Linked DNA regions of Homo sapiens: regions 1, 2, 3, 4, 5 and 7 are each linked to region 6. Evidence: promoter capture Hi-C in 16 types of primary human blood cells and fetal thymus (Javierre and others, 2016). All regions are on one chromosome and are shown on one strand. Each heading gives the region's core, a stretch centred on a gene start or on the middle of the fragment in contact. The rest is flanking DNA. Distances are from core to core; before and after follow the strand shown.

What was found. The method cuts DNA at HindIII sites, captures the fragments that hold promoters and counts their contacts. A CHiCAGO score of 5 or more calls a contact.
Region 1: a fragment that was not itself captured here is called in contact with the fragment with the promoter of SLC43A3 in region 6 in 4 of 17 cell types (fetal thymus, total CD8 T cells, erythroblasts and 1 more); the score reaches 7.9 in fetal thymus.
Region 2: a contact is called between the fragment with the promoter of BTBD18 here and the fragment with the promoter of SLC43A3 in region 6, in 2 of 17 cell types (total CD8 T cells and erythroblasts). The highest score is 5.8, in total CD8 T cells.
Region 3: a contact is called between a fragment that was not itself captured here and the fragment with the promoter of SLC43A3 in region 6, in 3 of 17 cell types (neutrophils, erythroblasts and monocytes). The highest score is 6.8, in neutrophils.
Region 4: a fragment that was not itself captured here is called in contact with the fragment with the promoter of SLC43A3 in region 6 in 6 of 17 cell types (fetal thymus, neutrophils, naive CD4 T cells and 3 more); the score reaches 7.1 in fetal thymus.
Region 5: a fragment that was not itself captured here is called in contact with the fragment with the promoter of SLC43A3 in region 6 in 7 of 17 cell types (activated CD4 T cells, erythroblasts, monocytes and 4 more); the score reaches 8.1 in activated CD4 T cells.
Region 7: a contact is called between a fragment that was not itself captured here and the fragment with the promoter of SLC43A3 in region 6, in 3 of 17 cell types (activated CD4 T cells, total CD8 T cells and monocytes). The highest score is 8.5, in activated CD4 T cells.

Annotation. Positions count from the first base shown.
Region 1 is chr11:57,800,090-57,802,789 of GRCh38, reverse strand. It overlaps CTNND1 (catenin delta 1), which reads right to left. Exons shown (of 21, transcript NM_001085458.2): 7 at 594-1,057. It overlaps TMX2-CTNND1 (TMX2-CTNND1 readthrough (NMD candidate)), which reads right to left. Exons shown (of 21, transcript NR_037646.1): 8 at 594-1,057. Among named protein-coding and RNA genes, the nearest start is that of CTNND1, 40 kb to the right of the region's middle. RefSeq lists an enhancer at 2,038-2,277. The HindIII fragment of the contact is 603 bases long and covers 970-1,572 here.
Region 2 is chr11:57,750,460-57,753,159 of GRCh38, reverse strand. BTBD18 (BTB domain containing 18) reads left to right here and starts at 1,341. Exons shown (of 3, transcript NM_001145101.3): 1 at 1,341-1,619; 2 at 1,924-2,095. The coding sequence starts at 1,972. All of the region lies in intron 2 of TMX2-CTNND1 (TMX2-CTNND1 readthrough (NMD candidate)), which reads right to left. The HindIII fragment of the contact is 11,151 bases long and covers 559-2,700 here.
Region 3 is chr11:57,698,556-57,701,255 of GRCh38, reverse strand. ZDHHC5 (zDHHC palmitoyltransferase 5) reads right to left here. Exons shown (of 12, transcript NM_015457.3): 11 at 1,838-2,697; 12 at 74-1,390. The coding sequence ends at 1,225. Among named protein-coding and RNA genes, the nearest start is that of MED19, 12 kb to the left of the region's middle. The HindIII fragment of the contact is 3,103 bases long and covers 1-2,700 here.
Region 4 is chr11:57,818,719-57,821,418 of GRCh38, reverse strand. CTNND1 (catenin delta 1) reads right to left here. Exons shown (of 21, transcript NM_001085458.2): 21 at 1,879-2,700. TMX2-CTNND1 (TMX2-CTNND1 readthrough (NMD candidate)) reads right to left here. Exons shown (of 21, transcript NR_037646.1): 21 at 2,239-2,700. Among named protein-coding and RNA genes, the nearest start is that of CTNND1, 58 kb to the right of the region's middle. The HindIII fragment of the contact is 1,768 bases long and covers 383-2,150 here.
Region 5 is chr11:57,781,802-57,784,501 of GRCh38, reverse strand. The region is part of intron 1 of CTNND1 (catenin delta 1); the gene reads right to left. All of the region lies in intron 2 of TMX2-CTNND1 (TMX2-CTNND1 readthrough (NMD candidate)), which reads right to left. Among named protein-coding and RNA genes, the nearest start is that of CTNND1, 21 kb to the right of the region's middle. RefSeq lists an enhancer at 1-246. The HindIII fragment of the contact is 3,687 bases long and covers 1-2,700 here.
Region 6 is chr11:57,425,759-57,428,458 of GRCh38, reverse strand. SLC43A3 (solute carrier family 43 member 3) reads left to right here and starts at 1,338. Exons shown (of 14, transcript NM_199329.3): 1 at 1,338-1,397; 2 at 1,807-1,871; 3 at 2,107-2,470. The coding sequence starts at 2,287. RefSeq lists a silencer at 1,219-1,578 and enhancers at 1,821-2,613, 1,722-2,700, 2,614-2,700. The HindIII fragment of the contact is 9,438 bases long and covers 1-2,700 here.
Region 7 is chr11:57,715,919-57,718,618 of GRCh38, reverse strand. The region is part of intron 1 of TMX2 (thioredoxin related transmembrane protein 2); the gene reads right to left. The region is part of intron 1 of TMX2-CTNND1 (TMX2-CTNND1 readthrough (NMD candidate)); the gene reads right to left. It also overlaps the pseudogene PPIAP42. Among named protein-coding and RNA genes, the nearest start is that of TMX2, 4.7 kb to the right of the region's middle. RefSeq lists an enhancer at 2,556-2,700. The HindIII fragment of the contact is 5,340 bases long and covers 1-2,700 here.

The DNA of each region.
Region 1 (2,700 bases), core at 22-2,521, 370 kb before region 6:
TTATGCTCCACAAAATTTTGTTTTATTCACTAACGGATCACACAAATAGATCACAACCCACAATCTGAAAAACTACTGCTCTAAATAAAGCAAGAACCACAAGCTTAAATGTCTATATGGGTCAAGCCGGTGAGTCAAGAGAGGAAGATAATTAAAAGAAATTACAAGCATGTGAAAAAATAGCAGTTGACAGCTCCATGTTTGGGAAACAACTTCCTAAACAGCTGTAGTTGGTCAGATAATAGAATGTGTTGGAGATTAGTGTAAATTAGAGAGCACATGCTCCAATCAGTTCAGACCAAATACTGCTAAGGAAGAAAAGAGATCCATTGTTAACAACTCTTCCACGTTTTTAATAGAAGCCAAGAATCTGGAATTTTAAGTGAAATCTTCTGAATTTTAAACATCAGCAACCAGTTCTTTAAAATTTCAATAATGCTGTGTGATCCAAACAAATCTGTGAGATGGATTTGACCCACAGCCACCAGTTCACAACCTTTCATCAAAAGTAAAAGGTCTGGAAATCCCTCTAGTTCTCAACATCACTAGAGAGTAACACTGACTTAGCAATTTTCCTTAGGCCTAGAACTCACCGGTAATAACTTCAGTAAGGTCCATATCACGAGCCTTTCGAAGCAATCGCACAAGGGCAGGCACACCATCACAGTTTTTTATGGCAATCTTGTTATCCTGGTCACGTCCAAAAGAGATATTCTTGAGAGCTCCACAGGCTCCAAGGTGCACTTCCTTTTTGGGATGGTCTAACAATCCCACCAGTACTGGGATGCCCTTGAGCTTCCGCACGTCAGTCTTCACCTTGTCATTGCGGTAGCATAAGTGTTGCAGGTATGCAGCTGCATTGGACTTGACAGCATCCAAGCGGAATCCAAGCATGGCGATCACCTCTGGCAGCTCTGGCTGTCTCCAATTAGGAGGTGGAGGCCCTCCTTTGCGCAGGCTATCCAAGCTTGCTAAACTTCCTCGCTCATGCTGGGCCAAAGGAGCCCAGTAGTATTGATCCGATGGCACCTCCTCACCAATCATGTCTTCATAGCTCCTGAGAAGTTTTGGAAGAACCAAGAGAATACATCAAGTCATTATGGCTAGCTTCCTGGACATTCCCATTACCCTCATCTGCAAAGGAGGATTAACTGGAGTTTCAGTGTGCTCATCTTATCTCTCCTTTGCATGAATAATATACTGATCAATTTTCCTCAATGGGTTAGTAAAAATAAAAGGTAATAATTTTAAAAACACCTGCAATTTAATTAAAACTACATTTTTTTCTTTGAAGTCTGCAGGCTTAGAAAGTAACAAGCATTCAGGAAAGGCTAATCAAAAAGAAAGAACCAAATCCTTACTACTTATCATTTATTTGAATGATATCTGACAGTTATTAACTTGTCTAGGTAGAGATCAGGATAAACTCTCAGAGAACAGAATTAACCAAAGCAACTGACTCAATGCCACAGAAGTCTGAGAACAGTTCCTTAACCAAACAGGAAATTAGGCATTTACACACAGGAAACAACTGGTAGGATAAGACCTTTAAATACATTTCATATTTAAGCTTCTCCTTATCCTATTTTGGAAATTATAAAAGATGGATTGATAGAGAAAAACTAATAAAGGGCTTCCTGCTACATCACAGGAGGATCTGGCTTTGGTACTGATGAGGTATAAACTTGAAAAGTAATTTTCACAGTCATTCCAAGGTCATGTCTGCTACTCAACAAATGTGTTAAGAGGTAAGATTCCATCCTCCAATTTCTAAAGACAATACCTCCAGCTCTTTCAAAATGAAGCCTATTCACCAACATCACATTTGGGAAGCCCAGCCACTAGGAACAGAGAAAGCAATTGAAAGTAAGAAAAATCAAACCAGGAGACAATTCTTCCTGTTTCAGTACTACCAACAACCACTAGAGGGTGAGTCTGTCACACTATTATTTATTCGTAACTACCAGGAAGGAAGAAACCCATTATCTGTGAGCTCATCTCTTTCTGGCTCCCACAGGAGAGGATAATCTATTGTGTGGAGCTCTCCAAATAAGCCATTGTTTGTTCTACAAAACCACTCCCACTGTCAACAAATACTCAAGGTTGCCCTGAGCAGAAGGCCTGCCTCACAGGTATCAACATCAACTATGCAACAGTGATTCAGATGGACAAAGCATTTAGTAAACCATGACCAAGATGGTCTTAAAATAACACGGAAACAGGACCAGGCATGGTGGCTCACATCTGTAATCCCAGCACTTTGGGAGGCTGCAGTGGGCGGATTACCTGAGGTCAGAAGTTCGAGACCAGCATGGCCAACATGGAAAAACACCATCTCTACTAAAAATACAAAAATTAGCTGGGCATGGTGGTGGGCACCTGTAATCCCAGCTACTTGGGAGGCGGAGGCAAGAGAATCGCTTGAACCCAAGAGGTGGAGGTTGCAGTGAACTGAGATTGTGCCACTGCACTCCAGCCTAAGTGACAGAGCGAGACTCTATTTCGAAGAAAAAAAAAAAAAGGTCAAGATTAAACCCTTCAAATCAAGAAGGGGGTACTAAAAATGCCCAAACAGCTGGTAAAACAAAATTGGTTGTCTTCTAAACTATTATGTATCACTTTTGCATCCACCCCAACCATAAAAATTTTCTGCTTACTATAAAATTAAGGAAAAGTATTTACTAACATTATAAAATACCA
Region 2 (2,700 bases), core at 92-2,591, 320 kb before region 6:
CGTAGGGCTCTGCGACGCGCAGCGCGCTAGGACGGTGGCACGAGGTGTGTGGCGCTGGCCGCGTGGCCTTACAACCCTCGCTATCACTACCACCCAGTGCATGTGGGTGCTGAAGCCCGCAGGGATACAAGGGCGCCAGGGGCTGCCTGCAAAGTCTATGCTGGCGGAGGTGGCCGTGACGGGAAGTCCTGACTTTGGGCCTCCCGGATCCCCACGGTCCATTCCCAGAAACCCTCGCGCCTAGGAGTCTTTCTTCAAAGGAGTTGGGCCAGGGCGCCCAAGCGTGCGGGCCACCCCGCTTTGCAGGGCTCTCCCTGAAGCCCTGCTTTCTCCGCCAACACCGATTCCCTTGCTTCTGGATGGGGAGGTGAAGCACTCAGCCGTTGGCCCACCTGCGCATCTTTGCTCAGCCTCCTGACTCAACGCTGAACATTGAGAGGAAGCAAGGCAGGCTGGACAGAGGACAAGCACAGAGAAGGCAACAGGAGCAAAGTCTACCGAAAAGCTATTTCAAGTTGGGTCTGGAGGCAAGGCCAGGCGATCGTGGATTGAGAAGCTTCCCCAGGGCCCTTGCAACAGCTGCCATCCTCCATCCACATCTCTCTCACTGGGATGGGAATTTTTTTTTTTTTTTTGAGACGGAGTCTCGCTCTGTCGCCCAGGCTGGAGTGCAGTGGCTCTATCTACAACCTCTGCCTCCCAGGTTCAAGCGATTCTCCCACCTCAGCCTCCTGAGTAGCTGAGATTACAGGCGCCTGCCACCATGCCCGGCTAATTTTCGTATTTTTGTAGAGACGGGGAGTCACCATGTTGGCCAGGCTGGTCTCAAACTCCTAACCTCAGGTGATCCACCCGCCTCGGCCTCCCAAAGTGCTGGGATTACAGGCGTGAGCCACCCCGCCCAGCCAAGCCCGCCTTCTCTTAATTTACCTTTTCATTCTTCTTTCCTGATAGTTTTGACGTGAACTGTTCGGACCCTCAGTGCTACCTGATAGAAAACTGCATTCCAGGAAAGGAACACAGCTGTGCAGTGAGTGGGGGGGTTTCGGAGCTAAAAAGCTGGACATAAGCCTGAAGTCAGAATACTCAGTTTGTTTTGGGAGGGGTAAAATGCTTTACTATCCTTGCTGCATTGTTAGCCTGGTAATTAACTATACAAACGTAAAGGCCAAATTCTTTGCCTACTACCAGGGTCAGTCAGGCTCGCTTTGGTCAAGTACACCCAGCCAAGGGTGGCAACGTCCTTGGTTCTGTGAGAGACCTTCCCGCAGAGTCAGAGGCTTCTCTTCTTTATTGTGCACCCTCTGCTGGTTAGTGTGATACAGTGAGCTCAGAGAAAAGGCGCATACGACTTACTAGAGATAATTTTATACCCAGTAATGTTTCCTTAAAAGTGTTAACTTGAAGATTATACCTGTGGAGCTGGGATGTGGTGCTCAGGAAGAATATAAGTAGTCAGCATTGTAGCAGTTGAGTCTCAGTGGTAATGGAAATGAGGAAGGTTGAAGGATAATAATAGTTACCATTTGGGGCTTGGTAGTTATTTTGTGCCAGGCACTCACTGTGCTAAGCAACTTTACCTTCACTGACTCATTTAATCTTTAAAACAACCCTACAAGGTAAGTACTATTATTCTATTTCATGGATAGGAAAGTGAGACTCAGAGAAGTTAGGTCACCTGTGTGAGATTATACAGCCAGGCTAATAAATAGAGCCAAGACCCAAACCTAGGCTTATCTCTGAGCTCCCACATGTAACCACTATGATAATTTTCTTTCTTGAGATATCCTTGGCACAATTTCTGGGCTGATGTTTCCTCAACTCATACTATTATCTCTCACTTTCAAAATTCCCCTGCCATTTCAAAGACAAAAAACAAATTAGATGTAACCATGCCTCTGAAATGTATTATCTCACCTACAGGAGTCTGATCTGTGAAAACCTAGAAGGTTTGTTAAGACTCTTGCCAACATGTGCTCTCCTGCCAGTCCCAAAATCCTATACAGGAACCCCCGGTTCCTCAGGTTAGCTTTTCTGCAGCTTCATCACCAGCAGCAGAGTGATGTGTTCTGTGATGTCCTTCTGCAGGCAGAAGGTAAGAGAGTGGTCGGAATTCAACTGAAAACTCACCATAGAATAAGATAAAATGAGTTCAGAGCCAGAGGGTAAAGGACAAAATCAGCAAAATATTACTGCCTATGACCACTGTAAACTATTTGGTAAAGGGCTGTTTGTTTCTAGGACAATTACTACTGTTTTCAAGAGTGAAATTGTGACTTTGCTTCTTTCTCTTAAATAATGAATCTAATTGTAAAGTTTTATAAGCAGATACATTCTATATAACATGGATAATATTCCAATGGGATGGTTGTGAAGATTAAGAGTTAATGTGGGTAAGCACTTAGAATAGTGCTTTTAATATACTAACCACAATATGTGTTAGATGATACTATTATGTTTTCTTTTTGAGAGTCTCACTCTCTTGCCCAGGCAGGAGTGTGGTGGCACAATCACAGCTACCTGCAACCTCCACCTCCTGGGTTCAAGTGATTCTCATGCCTTAGCTTTCTCAAGTAGCTGAGATTACAGGCATGCGCCACTACGCCCAGCTAACTTTTGTATTTTTAGTAGAGATGAGGTTTTGCCATGATGGCCAGGCTGGTCTCAAACTCCTGGCCTCAAGTGATCCACCCGCCTGGG
Region 3 (2,700 bases), core at 4-2,503, 270 kb before region 6:
ACTGATAACTTCCCACCAGAGATCGTTCACCCTGTCTCAACCAGACAAAATAACACAAGTCAGGGGGCGCTGGTTAGATCAGGATTTCTTTTTATTCCTCGTTGGTTTAAAATGGCTAATCAGAATAAAAAATAAAAGGGCCTCTTTGTGGAGGCTGGGATCTCCCCTATTTAGAGGTTAGAACCCAGGTATCCCCTCTACCCAGCACCATAGTGAGGTGGGCTGAGGGGTAACCCCCAAGGGACAATCGGAGGGGCCTAGGCCTGCCACTCCTTCTCTCTATCCCCCGTTTTTGGCATGTGATGAAAAATATTGCTTTTTGGATTCTTCTCTCCTGGCCTTGGATTTTAAAATCAAGTTAACTGTGTAAGCTAGGGGAGGCTCCAAGGGGCCAGTAGGAGCACACTCTAATCCCTCTCCCCCAAGGAGGGGATTATCCAATATTGTTTGAGCTAGGCCAAGTTATTTTCCTGATCTCCCACCACCACCAGTGTCTTGAAGTTTTGACCCCTTTCCTAGGGAAACTAAATGCCAATGAGCCTAGAAAACTAATTCTCCTCTCCAAGTCCTTCCCTCTTGTGACCAAAATTCCAGACTCACCTCTCCCCAGGCTTCTTCCTAATCACACTTAGCACCAGCAGAGGATGCTATTTCCGTAGTTAGTAACTGGGACAAATGAGAGGGAACCACAGGAAAAAGACTGACGTCTCCCCTCTTTTCCTGCTGGTCTGAGGAATGGGAAGAGTAAGATCCCCCTCCGTATATGTATCCCTCCCTCATTTTCCCATCCCAGGATAGATATATAATTTCTTTGATATTTATAATATATATATATATATATTATATGTACACACACACCTGGTAACGCAGAAGAGGAAAAAAATAGAATCCGTAACAATAATAAAAAAAATTATTTCTGGTTTAAAAATGATCTGGTTCCCTCCAGGGCGAGCAATTGCACAAATGTCCACTGAGTCTGGTCCAGGGATCAAGGAAGGGAAGGTCTTAAAAGATAAAAGGGGGGGTTGCTACCCCAGTCTCAGGGCCCCAACTCTCCGACTCCCCAAGCCTACTGCATTTTAGAAAACACTCCTCATCCTCTTGGAATCGGTGGTTTAAAAAATGTCCATGCACGGGAGGGGAGCCCCTTGAGGGAAGGAAGGTGGCCACCTGGGGCCCTTTGGTGTAGGCGCAGAGGCGTTGGGGAGGGGAGGTGCCGAAGGCTCACACCGAAATCTCATAGGTGGTACCACCAACCCCTGACACCTTCTTGACTCCTCCCCTCGTGGGGCTACTGAGAGGTGGCTGGCCTGGGCCAGGGGAGGCTGAGCCTAAGCTCTTGGGCTGCCCGTTGGATTTGCTGTAGGTGGTCTTCAGCTGTACTTCATCTCTGGAAAGAAGAGACAAGACGTAGGTGTCAGGAAATGGGACAGAAAACATTGGAAAGGGAGACAGTTTCAAAGGTTCAGAGAAAAAAATGATGTTCTTTTCTATATCCATACTTTCTTACCCAAACATTCCCCTTTATTGCCCTGCTTAAAATAAGCCTGATTCCCAATCTCTCCTATGTACTACTACTCTCTAGTAACAGCTATCACATGTACTTACTCCCAAGCAAATACTTTTAGGAAGATAGCATTATGGAAAAAGTATTAATCTTCAGTCTCTTAACAGGAATTGCCCATGAAGGCAGGTAGAGTCAAAGTGAAAATAAAGAGCTACCAGGATACCCCTGGGTCCACCTACATTAGGATGTACAACAGAAGCCCTGATAGCTTTTGCAGAGCAGTATGCTAATTTGAAATTGGCTAAGGGTCAGGATAGTACTAATACTTACTTGGGTGTCAGTAATGGCTGCAAGGCCACTTCTTCTGTCTCAGAGACACCAGGTTGGGCTTTTTGGCTGCTGTAAGACATCGATCGGCCCAGGTATGGGGCTGTTGGGCCTGGTTCAGGGGACCCTACTCCCCGGCCCCTTAGCCCATCTGGCTTGCCAAAACGGGGGACAGCTGGGCGTCCCAGTGGAGTCTTGCCCAAAGGTGATCTCTTTGAATCATCTGAGGAGGAACTAGTACGAGGGGCATGGCCCGAGCCTGGTGTTGACTGAATGCCTGAGTCCCCCAAGCCTGGTTCTTCCTCACGGCCCGGGAGTGGGGGTGACTGGCGCAGCAACTTCTCTCGTTCCTGGAGAGAGGCCACAATGTGGCGCGACAGATTGTCGTAACGGACTGGTGAGGGCTCTCGGTGTGTTGGGCCAGTTGGCACCAAACGTGGGTGCCTCTCAGCTTCCCGTTGCTGGGCCAGCCTGGCTGACAGGAAGGGAGAGGTATAGCCTAAAGGTGGGTCTGGCTCAGGCCCTGCCTGCACTGACTCAAAATCAGGGCTGTCTGAAGGTGTGAGCAAGCTGTCATAAGATAGGCTTCCATTGCGTGTCTGGTTGGCCAGGCTCTTATAGGAGGTGGAGGTGGTGCCCTCTGAACGAATGGATTGCAACTGGCCCAGCTCAAAGCCTGTGCCCTGGGCTGACTTGAGGCTGGAGGAGCGTGAGCCACTGGATAGTGGATCGAAGTGAAAACTTTTGCCAAAGGTAGGAGAACGGAAGCTCTCTGGTTCCAAGCTGGGCTCTGAGCGGTAGCTGGGGTGACGGCTGCTCTCTGCAATTGAGGTTGGCTCCTTCAAGCTGTCCCCACGACTCAACTG
Region 4 (2,700 bases), core at 17-2,516, 390 kb before region 6:
CATCCATGTCTGTCTCTAAATCCTGGATGGATCAGTTGAAGAACTAATGCTTTAAGTGACACAGGCAACAGAACAGTCTTAAAGCTGTGTGAAAAAAAATTGTTCCTAACAATTATCTTGTTTCTTTTTTGAGCTTTCCTGAGGTAGCTCTTTCTGGAAGCTACCAGAGTGATTTAAGTTTCCAGATGTGGTCTCCTTGGCTTTAGCCAATGGGGCCACTTGCTCGCCAGTTGAGATACCCTTTGTAGCTAGAAGTGACACTTAAGTCAAAGTCGGCAATTCCAGGGGATTCTCTGTGACCTACAGGACCCCAAATTAAGGGCTAGCTTCCTGCCTCAGCAACCTGAGCATTACCTACATATGATTTTCAGGATGAGAAGCTTCTCCTACCCAGATACCACACACCAACCTATCACTTACCATTATCTCAAACTCTATTGAAAGCAATGCATTCCTTTGAGATAAAGTTTCCTCTATGAATGCTCTCTTAAAATGGTGATCACCACATCATATTGTCTACATTCACCATGCTAGTATTACTGCCAGTGGAGTTGAAGCCAGTAATCCTGGGTTCCACTTTGAGGCTATAACCTTAAGCAAGTCACTAGATCAGTCCCTTAAGTCACAGTTAACTGACCACATACATCAGAATAACCTGGATGGGCCAGGCATGGTGGCTTATGCCTGTAATCCCAGCACTTTGGGAGGCCTAGGTGGATGGATCACCTGAGGTCAGGAGTTCAAGACCAGCCTGGCCAACATGGTGAAACCCCGTCTCTACTAAAAATACAAGTATTAGCTGGATGTGGTGGCGGGTGCCTGTAGTCCCAGCTCATCAAGAGGCTGAGGCAGGAGAATCGCTTTAATCCGGGAGGCAGAGGTTGCACTGAGCTGAGATCGTGGCATTGCACTCCAGCCCGGGTGACAAGAGTGAAATTCCGTCTCAAAAAAAAAAACAAAAACAAAAACAAAAAAAAAGAGGATAACCTGGATGACTTACCATGATTTTAGATTCCTCAGTCCCACCTACTGAATCGATTTTTGGAAATGGAACATGGGACTCTGCATTTTCAACAAGCATACAGGGAATTCTTATGTAACTTGCTCAGATATACAGGGCTAGGTCTAGTCAATTCCATCTATGAAAATATTAAGAACCTTTGCTTCAGATATAAAAATAGACAAAATGAGAAAAAAATGATATGGAAAGACTGGTTCTTAGTTCTTCCTGGGTGAGGTGATTCCAGTTTGTAGCAAAGAAAATTAGTTCAGCAAGAAAAACAAGTGGCCGGCCATGCGCAGTGCCTCACACCTGTAATGCCAGCACTTTGGGAGGCCAAGAAGGGTGGATCACTTGAGGTCAGGAGTTTGAGACCAGCCTGGCCAACATGGTGAAATCCTGTCTCTACTAAAAATACAAAATTAGCCAGGCGTGGTGGTACACACCTGTAATCCCAGCTACTCGGGAGGCTGAGGCAGAAGAATCGCTTGAACCCAGGAGGCTGAGGTTGCAGTGAGCCGAGATTGTGCCCCTGAGTGACAGAGCAAGACTCTGTCTAAAAAAAAAAAAGTGGCCAAGTGAGGTCCCAGCTTTGACCTCTGTCACAAAGTACATCAGTGTCAAGAAACTTGTGAGATAGGGCCTTTACACATCATTCTGTGTAACATCTCATTGTATTTAGATATGGCACAGAGAGAAGTGTTTTTAAGATCATAGATCTTGTCTATGGCCATATCACCCTGAACGCACACGATCTCGTCTGATCATAGATCTTAGCTATAGAGGATTCTCATGGATTGCAATCTATGAGAAAAGATCCATCTGTTTCACTCTCTAATCTAAACCTAACCTTGACACAACGCTTAGCATATAGGAGGTGCTTGGCAAATATTTATTGAATGAGATAAACAAATGGACCAATCCAGAAGGAAGAGAGAAGAGTAGGGTTTGTATCTAGCTCAATGCCAAAGGATAAGAACATAACAGGGAAATAAAGTGTTGCTGACAAGCAGCCAGGCTTTTCTATTTAGATAAAAATCATCTCAAGCAGGGCTATCAAAACTCTTTGGAAAGTAAACTCTTAATAGCTTTTTGGCTTTGTACTTCAACCTCTAATCTAACACTACAATTGTTAGACACAAATCAAGCTTTAAAAGCTAGTTGATTTCCTGGTCTCACTAGCCCATGAAAGTTTTCATACCCAAGTCCTAGTTCAATAAAACAAGACAGGACCATCATCAGGAGCAGCTATATAATTTTAATCTAAAGATTTGGGCATACAGAAAGCATTTCACATAAATTCTCTTGAGTCTTTAATTATATGACAGGACATAAGGACCTCAGAAAAATAAGTATCTTCCCATAGATCTTAACCCTTGATCTCTGCAGCAAAGATAGTCCCTGGTAATCCAGGTAATATGGTCTGTAAAATATTAATAAATAGGCCTATTGACTTCTGACTAAAGGACTGCATATAGCCTGAGAAGCAACATTATGGCCCAGTGGTCAGTACTTATATACATGGGCCTTTTGATCCTACATTTTCCTATTACGTAGTTGGGATTGGTAGTTTCTAATCTTCTAGTCCTAAGTGTTATATTTAAGAGAGCTACGTATTACAGTGGGCCTTATTCAAGGTTAGTTTTGTCAAATGTTGCAGAAGAATTCCAGTAATTAAAGTAAGTCATTAATTCTTTATG
Region 5 (2,700 bases), core at 102-2,601, 360 kb before region 6:
GAGTGTCACAAATTTATGCTCTCCATCTAAAAACAATGACAGGCAAAACTCCATTTCCATGTCGTTCTAGGGAATTTTTTTTTTTTTTTTTTGAGACAGGATCTAGCTCTTGTCGCCCTGGCTAGAGTGCAGTGGTGTGATCACAGCTCACTACAGCATGGACCTCGTGGGCTCAAGCAATCCTCTTGCCTTGGCCTCCCAAAGTGCAGGGATTACTGGCATGAGCCACTGTGCCCAGCCATTCTAGGGAATGCAAAGGGCTTTTTTCAAAAGCACACTGGGCTGGGCAAAGTGGCTCACACCTGTAATCCCAGCACTTTGGGAGGCCAAGGTGGGCAGATCACTTGAGCCCAGGAGTTTAAAGATCAGCCTGGGCAACATGGCAAAACCCCACCTCTACAAAAAAATTACAAAAATTAACTGGGCATGGTGGTGCACACTGTAGTCCCAGCTACTCAGGAGGCTGAGGTGGGAGAATTGCTTGAGTCTAGGAGGTCCAGACCACAGTGAGCCACAATCACTACATTGCCACCTGGGCGACAGAGTAAGACCCTGTCTCAAAAATAAATACGTAAATAAATAAATAAATAGCATACCAAGCCTCCTACTGCAGAATACTAATCAACAAAATATAGCACCTGTAACACTACAGAACTGTATTACATAACATTCAAGCCAGAAAGGGGCCCTTCAGATACCTAAAAGGCATTTATTTGCCTTAACTGGCACCTGACCCCAAATTTGAAGAAATATTCCGGTTCAACCACAAACAAACTTGCCATTTTGTTTCTAAATCAAAGAAATATATTTTGTCAAGATTTTCTATGGCTTTTTTTTTATTTTGAGATGGAGTCTCGCTCTGTCACCCAGGATGGAGTGCAGTGGCGCGATCTCGGCTCACTGCAAGCTCCGCCTCCCGGGTTCACAGCATTCTCCTGCCTCAGCCTCCCCAGTAGCTGGGACCACAGGCGCCCGCCAACACGCCCGGCTAATTTTTTGTATTTTTAGTAGAGACGGGGTTTCACCGTGTTAGCCAGGATGGTCTCGATCTCCTGACCTCGTGATCCACCCGCCGCGGCCTTCCAAAGTGCTGGGATTACAGGCGTGAGCCCGGCCTTTCTATGGCTTCTTATCAGTGCTTATACCAGAGTCCAAAGTCTAAGTACCCCGCCCTACCTCCACTTGATGTTCCACGTTTTTTTTTGTTTGTTTGTTTGTTTTTGAGATGGAGTCTTGCTCTGTCGCCCAGATGCAATGCCGTCATCTCGGCTCACTGCAACCTCCACCTCCCAGGTTCAAGCAATTCTCCTGCTTCAGCCTCCCAAGTAGCTGGGACTATAGGCATGTGCCACTATGCCTGGCTAATTTTTGTATTTTTAGTAGAGACACGGTTTCACCACGTTGGCCAGGCTGGTCTTGAACTCCCGACCTCAAGTGACCCACCAGCCTTGGCCTCCCAAAGTGCTGGGATTACAGGCGTGAGCCACCATGCCCAACCATGTTCCACCTTCATGCTCAGTCAGAACAGTTCTAGTATTTCTCACTTCACTGGGAAGACTCATCTTCTGTTAATTCCAAGTCCCTGAAGCTGATTTGCGTTAAGATTAAAAGGACTGTGCTCACTTCACAATCTCAACTGAGCACTACTCAAGTCACAAAACCTGTATTATTCTGGATATGGCCTTCTCCTAGTGTTCACTCTTTCTATGCTTCCTCATGGATCTGCTTCCTGCTAGGCCCAACTTCTCCATTTAGAAGTGTTAAATCAAGTTTAGCCTAGGCAAGTTTATGCCTCCTTACATCTTTTAAGTTTGGCCTAAAGATTTATCTGTACATAATGAACTATAACCTAAATGGTGGTAGAAATAGACTGTAACCTACTCTTGTGCCAATCACTGAGTTTTGGCCACTCAAAGGGGGCCAACTGTTCCAGCTGAGCCATAACCAATCCAGCTGTTTCTGTACCTCACTTCCATTTTTTGTTCATCACTTTCCTTTTTCTGTCCATAAATCTTCTACCACGTCTGCACTGGAGTCTCTGAGCCTACTGTGGCTCAGAAGGCTCCCCAATTAGTGAACTGTTCTTTGTTCAATTAAACACTGTTAAATTTAATTTAGTTAAGGATTTTATTTTAAAAGAGGGTAAAAGGCTGACCAAAGAAGTCTTATTTTCATGAGGAAAAACTAGGTGTCCACCAGGAATCTCTCTGATGAATTAAGGAAGGCTCTGGGCAGACCACCCTCCTCTTAGGAAAGAGTGATACATTCTCTCTGATTGGAACGTCAGAGAAAAGAATTTTTTAAAAAACAAAGATATAAACAAGATAATACTCCTTGTTAAAAGGAATTTGAGCTGGCAACCTCTATACATCAACAGGGTACCTTAAACTCCCTTTAGTCTTATAATCCTTACCCAAAGCTACCTGTCAATATTTAAAGTTTTTACTGCAACTTAAAAAAAAAAAAATCACCTCCACCATCATGACCTCCTAAATTCTGAGACCAAATAAAACATTCTTCTTTTTCTCTCTTTTCCCCTCCCAAGTATTCTGAGAACCCCCTCTAAACCATAACATACTAAAATGGCTTAGTGCTGGGCTGGCTTTGAAGCCAAGGAAGGGTGTGGCTCTCAGCTAGTGAGGGGGCCCAGGACTGAAAGGGTACAGAAAGAAAAAAACCTGCTTCTCTGTGGAGCATGCA
Region 6 (2,700 bases), core at 89-2,588:
GGAAGGTACTGCAGCTTTGTAGAATGACCGTGGGCAAGTTCCTTTGAAATTCCTCCCCAGAGCTGCTTCTCTGGCTCTGTCTACATAACTGCAGACTAGAAAATCTACTACCCTACAATCTGCCTATAGCACCTGCGCCATGCAGGGACCTCATACACCCATCTTATACTTCTTTTATGACAATTCCTATAATTAAGGTACTATTGTCCTCGTCTTACAGGTGGGGCAGCCAAAGAGCTTGCCTCAGGTTGTATAACTAGTGAGTAGCTTGGGGTACAGGACCCCAGCCACCCTTCCTCCATTCAGTCAAGTCACTAGGGTGGTTGCAGACTTTTATCTTTTGTGCTTTGGTGGTGAGCTGGAAAATCCTCAGTTCTGGCTGTCCCCTATCGTAACCTCTATTTCTTCCTCTTAAAAAAAAGAGGAGTGGGCTTGGAATAGCTGGAGTTCCTGGGCCCTCAGGGGATCCAGGTAGCTGGGGTTGGGAGTCTGCAGACTGCATCTAATACGCAAGAAGCTCTCCCCAAACTGAGCTTTTGGCAAGGAAACGGCCACACAGGCCAAAGAAGACGTCAGCTCACGTGCTCTGGGCTGGAAGGATAGTAAGGCAGCTGCTTAGTAAGGCCTCACGCTGATCACAAGCTCCGATGAGCAATTATATATGTCTTTGATTAATAAAAAATGGGGCAATGAATGGTTAATCAATGCAGTCTGGCGGGAAGGCTCTTTCAGAACCTGGGGGGCGGGGGTGAGGCAGGGAGTCATCTAAGGGGTTTTTGGGAGTGAAAATATGGGGCAGTCCTCCAGGGGATGGTTTCTGAAAAGCCCTCAGTCCTGGTTCTTGGCTTCCTGATTCTGTGGTTGGGATTTTTTTGGCAGCTCTGGGAGTGTGAAACTGGGAGAGACGGTTAAGCTGGTGAGCAAATAGGAAAAATATGTTCCCTGCCAACCCAGCGGTCAAGGCAAAATGCACAAATAGAGTGTGTGTGTCCCTATGCCCTCATGTGCTGTCTGTGTGTCCTCTGGGTGCTGGGTGTGACATTTTCCCTAGGTGGGCCTGAGCGAGTAACAGCATTCAACTAACTTGGTTAGGGGAGGCAGAGGCAAGGGGGCTGGGAGGCTGAAAGGCAGCGAGGAGGGAGGGAAAGACACCGCTGGGGTTCTAGGGGGTTCTAGAGGGAGAAGTTTCAAGAGGGAGAGGTAAAAAGGGCGCGGGAGGCTGTGAGCAAGGGAAAAGAAGAAGGAAGTGATGGAGAGTGGGAGGTCTGCCCCAGCCCCTTCCGGGCGGGCAGGAGGGGGCGGAGGCGAGCAGGGGACTGGGAGGGGCTGCGAGAGGCGCGAATGCGAACCTGGCCCGTGCGGAAAGGGCGCGGAGAGCCCCGGCGCGGAGCAGGCGGGTAGGGCGAAGGGTCCCCTTTCGGGCGCCATGGGGCGCCGAGCGCGGCCTGGCCCCTCGGGCTCCTCTGCGGGGAGGGCAGGCCGCAGGCTGGAGCGGGGTGCGGAGGCTGGCGGGGAGCGGCCCCCGGAGGCTTTCCTGGTAGAAGTTGATGCGAGGAAGGGCGGCGGGGACCAGGTTTGCGAGTCCTAGGCGAGGGTCATGGGAGTTGGGGGTATTTCTGGCAGTAGAATGGCCTGCGTCGTGACTAAACTAGCCCTGTGACCTTGGGCAAGTTCCTGAAATCCATGGGAGCTTTTGTTTCATTGTCAGTAAACTGAAGATAACACCAACTTGGCAGCGGGAGTTTGTGTCTTCTGTATGAAATCTCCCTGCCTCTGCACCTGGTTGAGTTGCTGTCATTATTTTAGGGGACGGTATTCAGAATTCGAGCGCAGGAGCTCCGCTTCTCCACCTGCTCCCGGGGAGCTATTGGGTAAGTCGTTTATCTCACCTGTGACTCCAGGTGGCCATCAAGACCTGCCTCTCTACTTGCCACGTGGTTACTCAAATGCAGTGCCTAAGATGATGTATTGGAGTATTTATTCCCCACATTTGCTGCCAGCGGCCATGATCATCCTGCCTCTTAATGCACCTCACAAATAACTCTAGTCTACCTTTCCCTTTCCCGCAGGCCTCCTCTTCCAGCAGCCTCTATCTTTATTCTACAGGATCCAGAGAATCACCCGCTGATGGTTTTTGCCCAGGCCTGAAACAACCAGAGAGCTACGGGAAAGGAAGGGCTTGGCTTGCCAGAGGAATTTTCCAAGTGCTCAAACGCCAGGCTTACGGCGCCTGTGATCCGTCCAGGAGGACAAAGTGGGATTTGAAGATCCACTCCACTTCTGCTCATGGCGGGCCAGGGCCTGCCCCTGCACGTGGCCACACTGCTGACTGGGCTGCTGGAATGCCTGGGCTTTGCTGGCGTCCTCTTTGGCTGGCCTTCACTAGTGTTTGTCTTCAAGAATGAAGATTACTTTAAGGATCTGTGTGGACCAGATGCTGGGCCGATTGGCAATGCCACAGGGCAGGCTGGTAAGGGCAGGGATGACTTTTCTAAGGAAGTTAAGTCTGGCTCCCACGTGGTGGCAAGGAGCAGGAAGGACTCTGCCCCCTGCCCACCCCTCTTTCTATGATGAGAGGAAGGGTCAGCAGCTCTCACCCCACTTGATCTGGGAAGTGCCTGGGAGGGAGGCACCAGCTCCTGAGGGGTAATTAGGGGCAGCCACATTTCAACTCAGCTTAAGGGACAAGTTTGCGACCGA
Region 7 (2,700 bases), core at 188-2,687, 290 kb before region 6:
AAACAATGATATAGATAAAACTAAACAGATATAAAAAGTTGGGCAAAGAGGCTTTGCTGCCACCACCAGGAGCCCTGTACTATCAGCCATGGTCAACCCCGTGTTCTTTGACATCACCGTGGATGGTGAGCCCCTGGGCCGCATCTCCTTCGAGCTGTTTGCAGACAAGGTTCCAAAGACAACAGAAAACTTTCGTGCTCTGAGCACTGGACAAAAAGGATTTGGTTGTAAGAGTTCCTGCTTTCACAGAATTATTCCAGGGTTTATGTATCAGGTGGTGACTTCACACGCCATAATGGCACTGGTGGCAAGTCCATCTATGGGGAGAAATTTGATGATGAGAACTTCATCCTAAAGCATACAGGTCCTGGCACCTTGTCCATGGCAATTGCTGGACCCAACACAAAAGGTTCCCAGCTTTTCATCTACACTGCCAAGAGTGAGTGGTTGGATGGCAAGCATGTGGTCTTTGGCAAGGTGAAAGAAGGCATGAATATTGCAGAGGCCATGGAGCGCTTTGGGTCCAGGAATGGCAAGACCAGCAAGAAGATCACCATTGCTGACTGTGGATAAGTCTAGTAAGTTTGACTTGTTTTGTCTTCACCACCAGACCATTCCTTCTGTGCTCTCCTCTCAGGAGAGCACCCCTCTACCCCATTTGCTCGCAGTATCCTAGAATCTTTGTGCTCTCACTGCAGTTCCCTTTGGGTTCCGTGTTTTCCTTGTTCCCTTACATGCCTAGCTGGATTGCAGTTAAGTTTATGATTATGAAATAAAAACTAAATAACAACAACAATAAAAAGCTAGGGAAAGAAAATAAAGAATGAAAACAAATTCTGGCCTCTGCCTCTGCCTCTGCCTCTCCCTCTCCCCTCTCCCCTCTCCCCTCTCCCCTCTCCCTCTCGGTCTCCCTCTCCCTCTCTTTCCACGGTCTCCCTCTGATGCCGAGCCGAAGCTGGACTGTACTGCTGCCATCTCGGCTCACTGCAACCTCCCTGCCTGATTCTCCTGCCTCAGCCCACCGAGTGCCTGCGATTGCAGGCAAGCGCCACCACGCCTGACTGGTTTTCGTACTTTTTTGGTGGAGACGGGGTTTCGCTGTGTTGGCCGGGCTGGTCTCCAGCTCCTAACCGCGAGTGATCCGCCAGCCTTGGCCTCCCGAGGTGCCGGGATTGCAGACGGAGTCTGGTTCACTCAGTGCTCAATGGTGCCCAGGCTGGAGTGCAGTGGCGTGATCTCAGCTCGCTACAACCTCCATCTCCCAGCCGCCTGCCTTGGCCTCCCAAAGTGCCGAGATTGCAGCCTCTGCCCGGCCGCCACCCTGTCTGGGAAGTGAGGAGCGTCTCTGCCTGGCCGCCCATCGTCTGGGACGTGAAGAGCCCCTCTGCCTGGCTGCCCAGTCTGGAAAGTGAGGAGCGTCTCTGCCCGGCCGCCATCCCATCTAGGAAGTGAGGAGCGCCTCTTCCCAGCAGCCATCCCATCTGGGAAGTGAGGAGCGTCTCTGCCCGGCCGCCCATCGTCTGAGATGTGGGGAGCGCCTCTGCCCCGCCGCCCCGTCCGGGATGTGAGGAGCGCCTCTGCCCGGCCGCGACCCCGTCTGGGAGGTGAGGAGTGTCTCTGCCCAGCCGCCCCGTCTGAGAAGTGAGGAGACCCTCCGCCCAGCATCCGCCCCATCTGAGAAGTGAGGAGCCCCTCTGCCCGGCACCAACCCCGTCTGGGAAATGAGGAGCGTCTCCGCCCGGCAGCCGCCCCGTCCAGGAGGGAGGTGGGGGGGGTCAGCCCCCCGCCCGGCCAGCCGCCCCGTCCGGGAGGTGAGGGGCGCCTCTGCCCAGCCGCCCCTACTGGGAAGTGAGGAGCCCCTCTGCCTGGCCAGCCACCCCGTCCGGGAGGGAGGTGGGGGAGTCAGCCCCCCACCCGGCCTGCCGCCCCGTCCGGGAGGGAGGTGGGGGGGTCAGCCCCCCGCTCGGCCAGCCGCCCCGTCCGGGAGGGAGGTGGGGGGGTCAGCCCCCCACCCGGCCAGCCGCCCCGTCCGGGAGGGAGGTGGGGTCAGCCCCCCGCCCGGCCAGCCGCCCCGTCCGGGAGGTGAGGGGCGCCTCTGCCCGGCCGCCCCTACTGGGAAGTGAGGAGCCCCTCAGCCCGGCCAGCCGCCCCGTCCGGGAGGGAGGTGGGGGGGTCAGCCCCCCGCCCGGCCAGCCGCCCCGTCCGGGAGGGAGGTGGGGGGGTCAGCCCCTCGCCCGGCCAGCCGCCCCGTCCGGGAGGGAGGTGTGGGGGTCAGCCCCCCGCCCGGCCAGCCGCCCCGTCCGGGAGGGAGGTGGGGGGGTCAGCCCCACATCCGGGAGGGAGGTGGGGGGGGGTCAGCCCCCCGCCCGGCCATCCGCCCCGTCCAGGAGGGAGGTGGGAGGGTCAGCCCCCCGCCCGGCCAGCCGCCCGGTCCGGGAGGTGAGGGGCGCCTCTGCCCGGCCACCCCTACTAGGAAGTGAGGAGCCCCTCTGCCCAGCCACCACCCCGTCTGGGAGGTGTACCCAACAGCTCATTGAGAACGGGCCGGGATGACAATGGCGGTTTTGTGGAATAGAAAGGGGGGAAAGGTGGGGAAAAGATTGAAAAATCGGATGGTTGCCGTGTCTGTGTAGAAAGAAGTAGACACGGGAAACTTTTCATTTTGTTCTGTACTAAGATAAATTCTTCTGCCTTGGGATC